Linked DNA regions of Homo sapiens: region 2 is linked to region 1. The links are contacts of gene promoters, found by promoter capture Hi-C in human tissues and cell types (Jung and others, 2019). All regions are on one chromosome and are shown on one strand. Each heading gives the region's core, a stretch centred on a gene start or on the middle of the fragment in contact. The rest is flanking DNA. Distances are from core to core; before and after follow the strand shown.

The links. The method cuts DNA at HindIII sites, captures the fragments that hold promoters and counts their contacts. A contact is called where the count stands out against the background at its distance.
Region 2: the fragment with the promoter of ALKBH4 here is called in contact with the fragment with the promoter of SAP25 in region 1 in 1 of the 25 tissues and cell types used here (dorsolateral prefrontal cortex).

The regions. Positions count from the first base shown.
Region 1 is chr7:100,572,646-100,578,114 of GRCh38, forward strand. SAP25 (Sin3A associated protein 25) reads right to left here and starts at 1,255. Exons shown (of 6, transcript NM_001348680.2): 1 at 952-1,255; 2 at 652-755; 3 at 461-567; 4 at 215-368; 5 at 9-106. The coding sequence starts at 1,097. LRCH4 (leucine rich repeats and calponin homology domain containing 4) reads right to left here. Exons shown (of 18, transcript NM_002319.5): 8 at 5,177-5,267; 9 at 5,019-5,095; 10 at 4,852-4,913; 11 at 4,628-4,744; 12 at 4,441-4,509; 13 at 4,257-4,360; 14 at 4,049-4,132; 15 at 3,593-3,678; 16 at 3,226-3,363; 17 at 3,060-3,137; 18 at 1,366-2,659. The coding sequence ends at 2,462. RefSeq lists enhancers at 2,119-2,673, 2,674-3,227. The HindIII fragment of the contact is 26,041 bases long and covers 1-5,469 here.
Region 2 is chr7:102,459,922-102,466,112 of GRCh38, forward strand. ALKBH4 (alkB homolog 4, lysine demethylase) reads right to left here and starts at 4,942. Exons shown (of 3, transcript NM_017621.4): 1 at 4,793-4,942. The coding sequence starts at 4,915. It overlaps LRWD1 (leucine rich repeats and WD repeat domain containing 1), which reads left to right and starts at 5,063. Exons shown (of 15, transcript NM_152892.3): 1 at 5,063-5,239; 2 at 5,896-6,130. The coding sequence starts at 5,160. MIR5090 (microRNA 5090) reads left to right here and starts at 5,821; the gene lies at 5,821-5,905. RefSeq lists enhancers at 4,685-5,334, 5,464-5,990, 5,614-5,713, 5,991-6,191 and a silencer at 4,844-5,273. The HindIII fragment of the contact is 23,818 bases long and covers 1-6,191 here.

The sequences.
Region 1 (5,469 bases), core at 5-2,504:
GCTCTCACCTGCTGGGGGGCCTTGGACAGGTACAGGGGAACACGCTGCCCCCGGGGCAGCAGAGGGTCCGAGAGGAAGACATCTTCACAGCACACCACCGGGAACCCTAGGAGGAAACACCACTAGGGTGGCGGGCTGCGGGCTCCCACCCCTGGGCACTGGTTCCCAGAGGAGTTGGGGCAGCCTTGCGCCCCCGGGGGACCAAGGGAGGTACCTGCATCTGGGGGCGCCTGCTGTCCATTCCAGTGCCCTGTGGCAGGGGCCACGGGCCTGAGACCCCTGCCCGAGGCTGCTTCATACAGCGGCCAGAATGAGGGGTGACACAGCGTCCGGCCTGAGAACGAGGCTCCTGAGCTACAGTTGGCCCCCTAGGGTGAGGAGGACAGAGCACTGGAGCCTCAGGCCACCGCACAGCTCCCTGAGCACCCCAGCCAGTCCCACAGGTTTGCCCCCAACTCACCCACACCGGCCGAGGTCCTGCTTTGGCTTCATACTTGGGGTCCCAGGGCGCTAGTGGAGTCATCCTCGAGGGGGCCACCTCCCAGGCCACCTGGGGGGAACGGGGATCTGGGGGGACGCTTGGGGATTATAACAGGCTCACAGTCAGTGAGAGGCTCTTAGGGGTAGTAGAGGCAGCAGGGCCTGTCCTACCTGGGGCTCCGGGGGGCTGCTCAGTGGCCGGGCCTGGCAGGTGGTGGGGCAGCAGCAGCTGCTCTCTCCAGATCCAGGAAGGGCTACGGGATGGGGGCTGTGGGCTGGAGGGGCAGGGACTGAGGCTGCAGCCACACCGCCCCCACGCACCCTCCCCTGGAGCCCAAGGGTGCCTGGTGCAAGGGAGACCGAGGGACCCAATCTCCAGCAGGGACAATGGAGAAGCCTCCGTAGAGCGCGTGGTGAAGGCATGGAGGCCCCCAGTCGCTGTCCCCCCACGGCTCCGTCCGAGCCCCTCACCTGTCCCATGGGGGTGTCCCCAGCTCCCTGGGGGCGTCCGCTCCGGCGCTCCAGGGCTCGCCCTGGTCCTTGCCCGCCGGAAGGCCTGGTCCCTCGGGCGCCTCCTCCGGGCCCGCGCCCCACCGCGGCGGCGACCAGGGCAACATTCCGCGTTCCCGAGCGCAGGACGGTACCGCCGTGTCCCCGCCGCCCGGCCCGGCCCTCTCAGCCTCCCTCCGCGGCGCGGCGCGAACGTGCCCTCCTGGCGAACCCACCCCAGAGGCCTCGCGGCGACGCTGGCGCCCTGTGCGTCTCCCGGCCACGTGGCGCGTGCCCCCGCCGGGCTCCCGCGGGCGCCCCCTGGCGACTGGGCGGTGAATTCCGGAAACAGAGGCCCCCCCAACAACCCCGCGACGCACGTGCTCTCAGACACAGTTACACCTGAGGGCCACCCAGAGGGCTTCTGGCTTCTGTTTATTGCGGCTGACACGACACCTGCGACACCCGCGGTCCTTCCACCCAGACCCTCGACCCCAGAGGCAGCCAGGCCGGCAGGCCAAGGGTGCCCAGGCCCAGGCCACCCTCACCACGTGCTTCTCTGAGAGCGCGGAGCCCAGGCGCGTCTTCTGCTCCCGGGGTCCCGGGCGGGGTGGGCCCTGTGCCCCCACCTTCACCCCTAAGGCCGGTCCAGCAGGGCGTGGACGACAGCAGCGATGTAGGGGAGGCCCCTTCCCGGGGCCCCCTCCTCTTCCAGGATGTGGTGGGGCTGGCACAGTGACTCCTGGGGGAAGGGGCCGGGTTAGCTTCCCCACGGTGCCCCCTGCGGCTTCCGGCCTGTGGCAGGGGGTCGGGGGCAGACCCGAGCATCACCGTGCGCTCGGGGCTCGGCGACAAATGAGACGCAAGAAAGCTGTCAGCGATAACAGAAGGGAGGTGACACGGGGGGTTGGCGGACGCTCCGGGAGCATGAGAGGCCGGCATCTCAGGAGGGAGATGCTGGTGGGCACAGAGCCATGGCCACAGCCACCAACACGCGGAGCAGACGCGCGCGCGCGCGCACACACACACACACAGGCAGGGCGGCCACGGTCTGTACAGTTTATACACAGAGATAGGGACCCGGCCTGGGCCCCGAACCCCTACAAATATAGATCCTCTCTACAAAATAGAGATAATTTAGCCCCCCCATAGCAGCTGTTGGGGGGGGAAGGGGAGGGCACAGGAGGAAGGGGGAGACTCCAGCTCCTGCCACCCCTCACGGGGTACAGAGGGCAGGGGCAGGGCCGGCGGGGACATGAAGGCACCGTCAGCACTGAGAGGTGGGGACTCGTGGGGCTACTGGAGGGAGGCCAGAGGCTGGGGGCCCAGGGTCTGGGGGCACCAGAGTGGGGCCTCTGAGGTCAGTGTCTGTGAAGGGGGTGCACTAGTGTCTTTGGTTGGGGCTGAAGGCACCGCAGGTGGGGTCGGGTGGAGCAGGGACCTTATAAATAGAGAGGAAGGGAAAGGGGTGAGGGAGGGCCGATTTTGGGGCCTAGGAACCCAGGAGCCGAGTGTAGGTGACATAGAGCAGCAGCATGAGGACCACGTAGAAGACGACGAAGCCGCCCAGACCAGAGGGGGGCCAGAGGGGCGGTAGGGCCTTGCCCCCCACCCGCTTCACGGCCTCCAGCGCGGTCCGCAGCCCCCGGGCAGTGCCCTGGAGGAGATCCGAGGGCGAGCACAGGTCAGCCTGGGGGAGAGGAGAGCAGGTGGACAAGGACAAGGGACAGACGTCAGCAGCAGCAGCAGGACAGTCCCTCCCACCCCTGCCCTCACGTGCTGGGGCCAGAACCACGCCCACATGCTGACGTGCTGGGCAGGGGGAGTGCAGTGCAGGAGGAGTGCAGGGCAGGGCATGTGCAGGACAGGTGACATGCAGGACAAGATGGGGCCTGCAGGGCAGGGGATGTGTAGGACAGGTGACATGCAGGGCAGGGGGCATGCAGGGCAGGGGGCATGCTGGGCAGGGCAGGGGCAGCCTGTGCCTTCATCTGAGAGCAGACATCCGCTGCAAATGGAAGCCCACCATCCATGCCACATGCTCGGCTGAGTCCGGCATGCCACCACTCTTTAGAAAGCAGCCCCCATACCTCAGGCACCCCCATTTTTCGACAGGCTTCTAGAAAACTCTCCACATTCTTCCGAGCCTTGAGGGCACTGAGTTTTGGCTGGGGTGGGTGAAAGAAGAAAATGTGGTAAGGGAGAGGCCACAGGCGCCCCGGCCCATCCCCCACCTCTTCCCCAGCCCCAACTGACCACAGCAGGGGAGGGCACATGGATGAAGGGCACGGAGCGCGGCCGTAGCTGGTTGGCCAGCTGGCACAGGATGACCCCACTGGCCAGAGCCTCGGCCAGGTCCTCAGGCAGGGGCCGCTGCAGCCGGGACTCAAGGACCTGGCAGTGTAGACCACATAGAGCAGGGGTCAGGGAAGGAGAGGCGTCTGGGAGGCAGGGAGAGTGGGGGGCTCAGGGCTAGCAGGGAACTTGTGCCTGTCCCTTCCTGTCCTCAGGGGAGGTGCCAGAGTGGGCACAGAGGATGTGGAGGGAGGCTGGTCCCAAGGACAGCAACACAAGGAGGTGCCCGGCCCAGGCCCCTGCCCACGCAGCTCCCGCCTCTGCTCACCTGGCGCAGCTGAGTCATTAAGTCCTTCTCATCTGGAACCTGGGGGTACCGCCGAGGTCTCAGGACAGAGTCTGGTGAGGAAGGGCCTAGGAGAAAAAGGGGGGCATGGGGCTGCCTCCACTGCTCACCACTGACTCTGTAGCTGGGTCCCAGTGGCCTGGCACCTACACCTCCTGCCTCTCTGCTTGTGGGATTTTTTTTTATTTCATGGAGATGGGGTCTCGCTATGTTGCCCAGGCTGGTCTTGAATTCCTGGGCTCAAGCGATCCTCCCACCTGGGCCTCCTAAAGTGCTGCGATTACAGGTGTGAGCCACCACACCCGGCTTGCTTGTGGGATTTTCAACGCAAAGGTACAAAAGGTACAACAGACCCAGAGGGCTCCCAGGGCAGAAGGGTGATGTAGCCGTTGGTGCTGGCAAGCACTGGGTCAGCACTGGGGAGGGCAGGACACCCACCTGAGCCACTCTGAGAGGAGGAACGGAAGAGGAAGCTGTTTGGTCTCTGAATGGAGCCAAGTGGCCGTGGAGCAGGTGCTGTCGCTGGGGCCGGAACCAGGGACACAGCGACAGGGGCAGGTGAGACAGGCATCCCCTCTGTGTCCCTCTCTCCCAACCAGCCCTCACCAACACAGGCCCCATCCTCCTCCCAAAATCCCTGTCCCACCTGGTCCAGCTATGGGAAGGGGCTCTTGGGAGGCAGGGGCAGGGGCGGGGGCTCCCTGCCCCGCTGCAGCCCCTGCTTGGGAGGCACTGGACTTAGGCGAGCCGCTGAGGAGAGACAGAAGGGAATTAGAGGGATGATGGTCATAGGAAGAGGAGTGGGGAGGGGATGCTGGCAGGAAACCTACTTGTGCATGGCTTGAGTGGACACGGCGGCGGCCCCTCCCACAACAGCCCTGAGCCCTGGCTTCAAGAGGCTGGAACAAGGAGAGGTGGGGTCAGCTAGCCCCAAGGCAGAACGGCTCAGCGGGGCTCGGTGGCCCCATTTCCAGGGCTCAGTGTCCAGCAACAGCCCCGGGCGGCCCTGGGTCCCACCTATCCTTCCTCGGGGCCCCCCACGCCCCGCTCTGCTGCTGCTGCCGCCGTTCCCGCTCCTGCCACAGCTGCAAGGTGTCCGGGCGCCGCCGCTCCTCCCCTGCCGGCTCCTCCCGCCTGAGGGACCAAGACAGGGCAAGAGGGGCAGACCCCGGGGTCAGGGAAGGAGGCGGTTGGGGGGTGGGAGGATCGGGCAGTGGCGTCAGTTTGGGGGCTTGGGGTACCTGCTGCTTGGTGCCCTCTCCCTGTCCCCTGCCCCAGGGCTTAATTCGGGTGGTCGCTGCTCCTAAGGAGAGAACAGCAGAGCAGCTGAGGGCAGGCCTGTGCCCACGCCTGCCCTGTCCCCTCCTCCAGCTCCCCTCCCTTGGGAGAGGCATAGCTGGGCTCTCACCTCCACAGTGCCTCGCTCTTCATCCTCCCCGGGGACATGGCTGTCGATGAAGTCAATCTGCACAGGGTCTCCGTCCGCTGGGGAGGCCAGCATGTCAGCAAGTGAGCGGGGACCCAGGCCCTGGTCCAGCCCAGCTCCCGGCCAGCCCTGCTACTCACCTGAGCCATCCTCCTTGCGTTCTCTGGGTCCCCGGGGCTCCCGGGCCAGCTCTGAGATCCGGAATGACAGCTCTGAAAATTCATCTGTTGACTGTAAAGGCAGAGGCAGAGATGGGAGATGGCCTCTCTGTACATGGGGGCTCAGGACCTGGGGGGTCCTGTGTGGGACTAAGCTCAGGGTCTCTGCTGAGCCAGCCCTTCCCTGGGATGCTGGGCAGAGGGAAGGAAGAGGACAGCTCCAGCCTCTGCCTGGCACCCTGCAATTTGGAGGTCCCCAGTTCAGAGGTGCTCTC
Region 2 (6,191 bases), core at 3,692-6,191, 1.9 Mb after region 1:
GGTGGGTGGATCACCTGAGGTCAGGAGTTCAAGACCAGCCTGGCCAACATGGTGAAACCCCATCTCTACTAAAAATACAAAAATTAGCCAGGCATGGTGGCAGGTGCCTGTAATCCCAGCTACTCAGGAGGCTGAAGCTGGAGAATTGCTTAAACCCAGAAGGCAGAGGTTGCAGTGAGCCAAGATGGCACCACTGCACTCCAGCCTGGGCGACAGAGTGAGACTCAAAAAAAAAAAAAAAGTTTAAATAAAAATTAGCCGGGTGTGGCAGAGCGCACTTGTCATTTCAGCTACTCAGGAGGCTGAGGCGGGAGGATCATTTGAGCCCAGGAGGTTGAGGCTACAGTGAGCCATGGTCGCGCTACTGCACTCCAGCCTGGACAACAAAGCAAGACCCTGTCTCAAAAAAAAAAAAAGAAAAAAAAAAAAGGAAAGACACATCCTGGAGCCATGGCAGCCCCTGGCACTTGTGTGCCCTCAGGAGACCCTCTGATGGCTCATTCCTCCCCTCAGGACACTGTGGAAGGCAGCTGGAGTCTAGGGGGAGGTGCAGGCAGAGCCTCTGCCCCAGGCTGACCGGGGAAGGCCCGCAGCCCTCTTGAGCTAACACGAATTTGATTGGTTTCCTTTCTCACTTTCCTCCCCTGTAAAAGAGAAGGGTTTGTACAACATGTTTTTCCTTCTCCATTTTACAAAGGAGGCTCAGCAAAGTTAAGGAACCAGCCCGAGGCTGGACAGCACCTCCTGCACTCCCATCTCCTCAGCTGCTTCCAGGAGGCCCCAAACTGCCTGACTACCTTGAATCTGTGCACCCTAATCTCTTTAGGTCTTTGCTGATGCCACCCCGGTGTCCCAGGGGTTGGCCCGTGCCTATCACCAGCGTGAGGGTCACCTAGGAGGGCAGCCAACTTCCCTACAGAGCTGAGCGTTCAGTTGAGCTCCTCAGTGTCCCAACCTCCCTTCTCCTCACTCTTGTCCTCAGGGCACCTTTCCAGACCCAGCATCACCCCTCAATCCTCATACCCTGGGCTGTCACTCAACTCCCACCCCATGTCCCTCTCTGCTCTGCCACCAACCCCGAGGCCTGGCGGTACTCTAAGGGTTCCCCCATGCTAAAGAAAGTCTAGAAACCAGGCCAGGCACGGTGGCTCACACCTGTAATCCCAACACTTTGGGAGGCCAAGGTGGACTGATCACCTGGGGTCAGGAGTTCAAGACCAGCCTGGCCAACATGGCAAAACCCCGTCTCTATTAAAAATACAAAAACTAGCCGGGCGTCGTGGTGCATGCCTGTAATCCCAGCTACTCAGGTGGCTGAGGCAGGAGAATCCCTTGAACCCGGGAGGTGGAGATTGCAGTGAGCCAAGATCGTGCTAGTGGACACCAGCCTGGGTGACACAGTGAGACCCCATCTTGAAAATAATAATAATACTTTTTGTTTGTTTGTTTGTTTGTTTGAGATGGAGTCTCGCTCTGTCACCAGAACTGGAGTGCAGTGGCACGATCTCGGCTCACTGCAACCTCTACCTCCTGGGTTCAAGCGATTCTCCTGCCTCAACCTCCCGAGTAGCTGGGACTACAGGTGCGCGCCACCATGCCCAGCTAATTTTTTTCTTGTATTTTAGTAGAGACGAGGTTTCACCATGTTGACCAGGATGGTCTTGAACTCCTGACCTTGTGATCCTCCCGCCTTGGCCTCCCAAAGTGCTGGGATTACAGGCGTGAACCACCATGCCCAGCCAATAGTAAATTTTTAAAAAAGAGTTTCGCCAATGAAATAGCCAGTATTTGCATCTGTGGCACTGAACATTTTACATGGATTATCTAGTTTCATCCCCAGGACAGCCCCAAGAGGAAGGTACCATAACTATCATGGGCAGGAGGTGTGGAGGTTCTGGCCGGAGTCACCCAGTGAGGACTTCGGAGGCCACCAGAACTCAGCCCTGGGCTCTGTGGCCTGTCTCCTCTTCCTCTTCCATCTCCAGGCTCCTCACACCCTGGGCTGCCACTCACTGTGGGCCGCTGTCTTTCTCTGTTCTTCCCTCCAGGGACCTCAGCCCCTTCCAATGCTTTACTTCCAGCCACCGACTCCAGCTCAGACCCCTCCTGAGATTGGCACTATCTCCTCCTGCTCCTGGGGCCCTCCCACGGGAAACATTAAAACTGGGAGTCCCCCGTGTGTCGGCTGAGCAGGCTGGACTTGTCCGAAAGGCCATGGAGCGCTCTTGAAGGGTTTTAAAGGAGTGACGAGGTCAAATGTGAATTTTAGAAAGATCTGGAGGGGGGAGGGGCAGATATGAAGGGTGGAGGCTGGAAAGCCAGTGAGGAACTGCCCCAGTGCCCTGAGATCCTGGATACCTCACTCTCCTTGTTCCATAGCCATCGGGTTGGGAAGATGTCACCTCCACATGGCCACTGGAACGGGTCAGACTTTCCGCAATTTTTTTCTTTTCTTTTTTTTTGTTTGAGGCAGGGTCTCGCTCTGTCACTCAGGCTGGAGTGTAGTGGCGCTCACAGCTCACTGCAGCCTTGACCTCCTGGGCTCAGGCAATCCTCCCACCTCAGCCTCCCAAGTAACTGGGACTACAAGCACACACCACCACACCTAGCTAATTTTTAAATTTTTTGTAGAGACAGGGTCTTGCTATGTTGTCCAAGCTGGTCTCAAACTCCTAGACTCAGGCGAGCCTCCTGCCTCAGCCTCCCAAAGGGCTGGGATTATAGGCATGAGCCACCGCACCTGGCCCCTTCCACAAATTAAAACTCTTAAGTTCATTCATATTGTTGTACAGCCGTCACCACCATTCAGAACTTTTTCATCTTGCAAAACTGAAACTCTTTCCCTATTAAACAACAGGTCCCCATCTCCCCTTCCTGAGCCCTTGGCAACAACCCTTCTACTTTCTGTCCCTGTGACTACCCTACGTAGCTCACACAACAGGAATCATGCAGTATTTGTCTTCTGTGACTGCTTCCTTAACTTAGCATCGTGTCCCCAAGGTTCGTCCATGCTGTAACATATGTCAAAATGTCCTTTTTTTTTTTTTTTTTTTTGAGACAGGGTCTCACTATGTTGCCCAAGCTGGAGTGCAGTGGCGTGATCACAGCTCACTGCAGCCTTGACCTCCCAGGCTCAAGCAACCCTCCCACCTCAGCCTCCTGGGTAGCTGGGACTACAGGTACGTGTCACCATGTATGGTTAATTTTTTTGTAGAGGTGGGATTTCACCATGTTGCCCATGCTGGTCTCAAACTCCTGGGCTCTGGCAATCTGCCTGCCTCGGTCTCCCAAAGTGCTGGAATTACAGGTGTGAGCCACTGTGCCCGGCCTGTCCTTCCTTTTTAAGGCTGAATAGTATTCTACTATGTGTATGCACCACATTTTGTGGATCAAGTCATCTCTTTTTTTTTTTTTTTTTTTTTTTTTGAGAAGGAGTCTTGCTCTGTCACCTGAGCTGGAGTGCAGTGGTGCGATCTTGGCTCACTGCAACCTCTGCCTCCTGGGTTCAAGCGATTCTCCTGCCTCAGCCTCCCGAGTAGCTGGGATTACAGATGTGCCTCACCAAGCCCGGCAAGTTTTTGTAATTTTAGTAGAGGCAGGGTTTCGCCATGTTAGCCAGGCAGGTCTCAAACTCCTGACCTCAGGTGATCTGCCCACCTCAGCCTCCCAAAGTGCTGGGATTACAGGCGTGAGCCACTGAACCCGGCCCAGGTATCTTGATAGATGCTTGGTTTGCTTCCATCTTTGGGCTGTCATGAATAATGTCGTGAATATGAACATGGGTGTGCAAATATCTCTTCCAGACCCTGCTTTTAGTTCCTTTGGATATATACCCAGAAGCAGGATTGCGGATCATGGGTAATTCTATGTTTAATTCATGAGGCATGCCATGCTGTTTCCATAGGACCTTGGGCACTTTTACCATGGACGTTGGGGCAGTCTTCACTGGCTTACCAGCCTCCACACCTTCATATCTGCCCGTTCCCTTCCCAGGATCTTTCTAAAATTCACATTTGACTTCATCACTCCTTTAAAACCCTTCAAGAGCTCTCCAGGGCCTTTGGGACAAGTCCAGCCTGCTCAGCTGATGCACCGGGGAGCATCTGTGATCAGACCTCCCCCCCCCCACAACCTCTCCAGCCTCATCTCTCTCACCTGAGGCATCACCAATCCACCTTCCTACCCCACGCAGTTTTCTGGGTTGGAATGCCCTTGCAACCAACCACAGTCCTTCCATGCCAGCCCAAAGGCGCTGAGTTCTTTTTCTTTTTTTATTTATTTTCTTTTTGTGAGACAGAGTCTCGCTCTGTCGCCCAGGCTGAAGTGAGGTGGCTCGATCATAGCTCACTGCAGCCTCCAGCTCCTGGGTTGCAGCGATCCTTGAGTTCCTTTTCGTTAGTTAACTGGAATTCACTGTCTCCTTGCCCATTGCAGTCCACGGCCTTCAGGCACCGTTGGACTGGTATTCAGCACCCTCGATCGACCCTTTCCGTGTCATCTCCCTGCAGGCCCGTGAAGCTCCCAGCGCCAGACCCGAGAGGCTACGTCGAGGTTTACAGGCAGATCCCCCCAGAGTCCCCGAGGTGACCTGTAATCGAACCCACCCACGTTCCAGCTCCTTCCCCACTCCCAAGCCCGCTCCTTAAAGCCCTCATCTCCTCACCCTGCATCACCCCTACCGTAAGGGTCCCTCACAGGCTTCGATCCCGGCCCCTATCATGGCCAAGCTGGACCTCAGTTTCCCCAGATGCAGAGCGACGTTTGTGGGCGCGGCCCCTCTCCCACCCCTTACCGCTGGGGGCAGCTCCCAGGGCGGGTCACTGCCGCGCTGCCGCTCGCAGATCAGACAGGTCCGGATGCCCTTGCAACCGCATTCCCGAAGGACTTCGGGGGTCTCGGCGGCAGCCGCCGCCATCGCGCCGTCCGCGTGGCCAGTGCGCAGGCGCGGCCGTGGGGGCCGCTGGGAGTTGTAGTCCGCGCCGGGCGGGGGCACGAGGCCTGGGTTCCGCTTCCTTCCGGTCGTTAACGCCCACGGGCTCGCGCGGCGCCGCCTCCTGGGCTCAGTTACCGCGGACGCCAGTGCCGGGCTCCAGGAGACGCAGGGCGACGCCACACGCCGGGGTGGCCGACTGGGTCAGCGCGGGCTGCGCCTCCTCGCCATGGGCCCCCTCTCGGCGCGGCTGCTAATGCAGCGCGGGCGCCCCAAGAGCGACCGGCTGGGGAAGATCCGGAGTCTGGAGTAAGAGCCGGGCAGCGGGTGAGGCTGTGTCCTCGGGGCCGGGCGGTCGGGGAGAAGAGCGGGGACCCTCCCCAACGGCCCGCTTGTCCCCGTTATCGCCCTCTGGGTTCGGCAGAGTGGTCCAAATGTCTTCTTGTTGGGAGATCGTGGCCCCACCCGCTCGCCGGGAGCCCCGAGGGGCCTCATCCCCTGAAGGGAGCCCGGACAGTTAGGGGCACAGCCTGCCGCTATCGTTAGAGGGCCTGGGAAGCACAGACGAGCCCCCGAAGGATCAGGAAGAGCATCCTAGAGGGGGCTAGGATGCCCCCGAGTCCTAAAGTAGTTGCAGCTTTTTTTTTTTTTTTTTTTTTTTTTTTTTTTTTTTTGTTAAGTGGTGTGGAGTCGGGAGTAGTGGCGCGCGCTTCTAGTCCCAGCTACTCGAGAGGCTGAGGCGGGAGGATCCCTCAGCCCAGGAGTTGGAGGCAGCTGTGAGCTATGATCGCGCCTAGGCGACTGAGTGACACCCCGTCTCTAAAAATAAAGTAACGGGGGGATGGGCGGGGCGGCTACACTTGTACGAGAAATGTCAGGTGAAAAAGCCTTCTGAGGTACCCGGGGCAGATTGGTGTAGGGTGCAAAGCCTGCCCGCCCCCTAAGCCTTCTGCCCCCAACTCCAGCCTGTCAGGATTGGAGCTGCTTTCCGAGCACCTGGACCCCAAACTCCTGTGCCGCCTGACGCAGCTGCAGGAGCTTGACCTGTCTAACAACCACCTGGAGACGCTGCCGGACAACCTGGGCCTGTCCCACCTGCGTGTCCTCCGCTGCGCCAACAACCAGCTGGGGGATGTTACTGCCTTGTGCCAGTTCCCCAAGCTCGAGGAACTCAGCCTGGAGGGCAACCCCTTCCTGACGGTAAGTGGGAGCCTCCCACCAGCTTCATACCTGGGGCCAGGACTCTGTTGGGCTCAGGCTC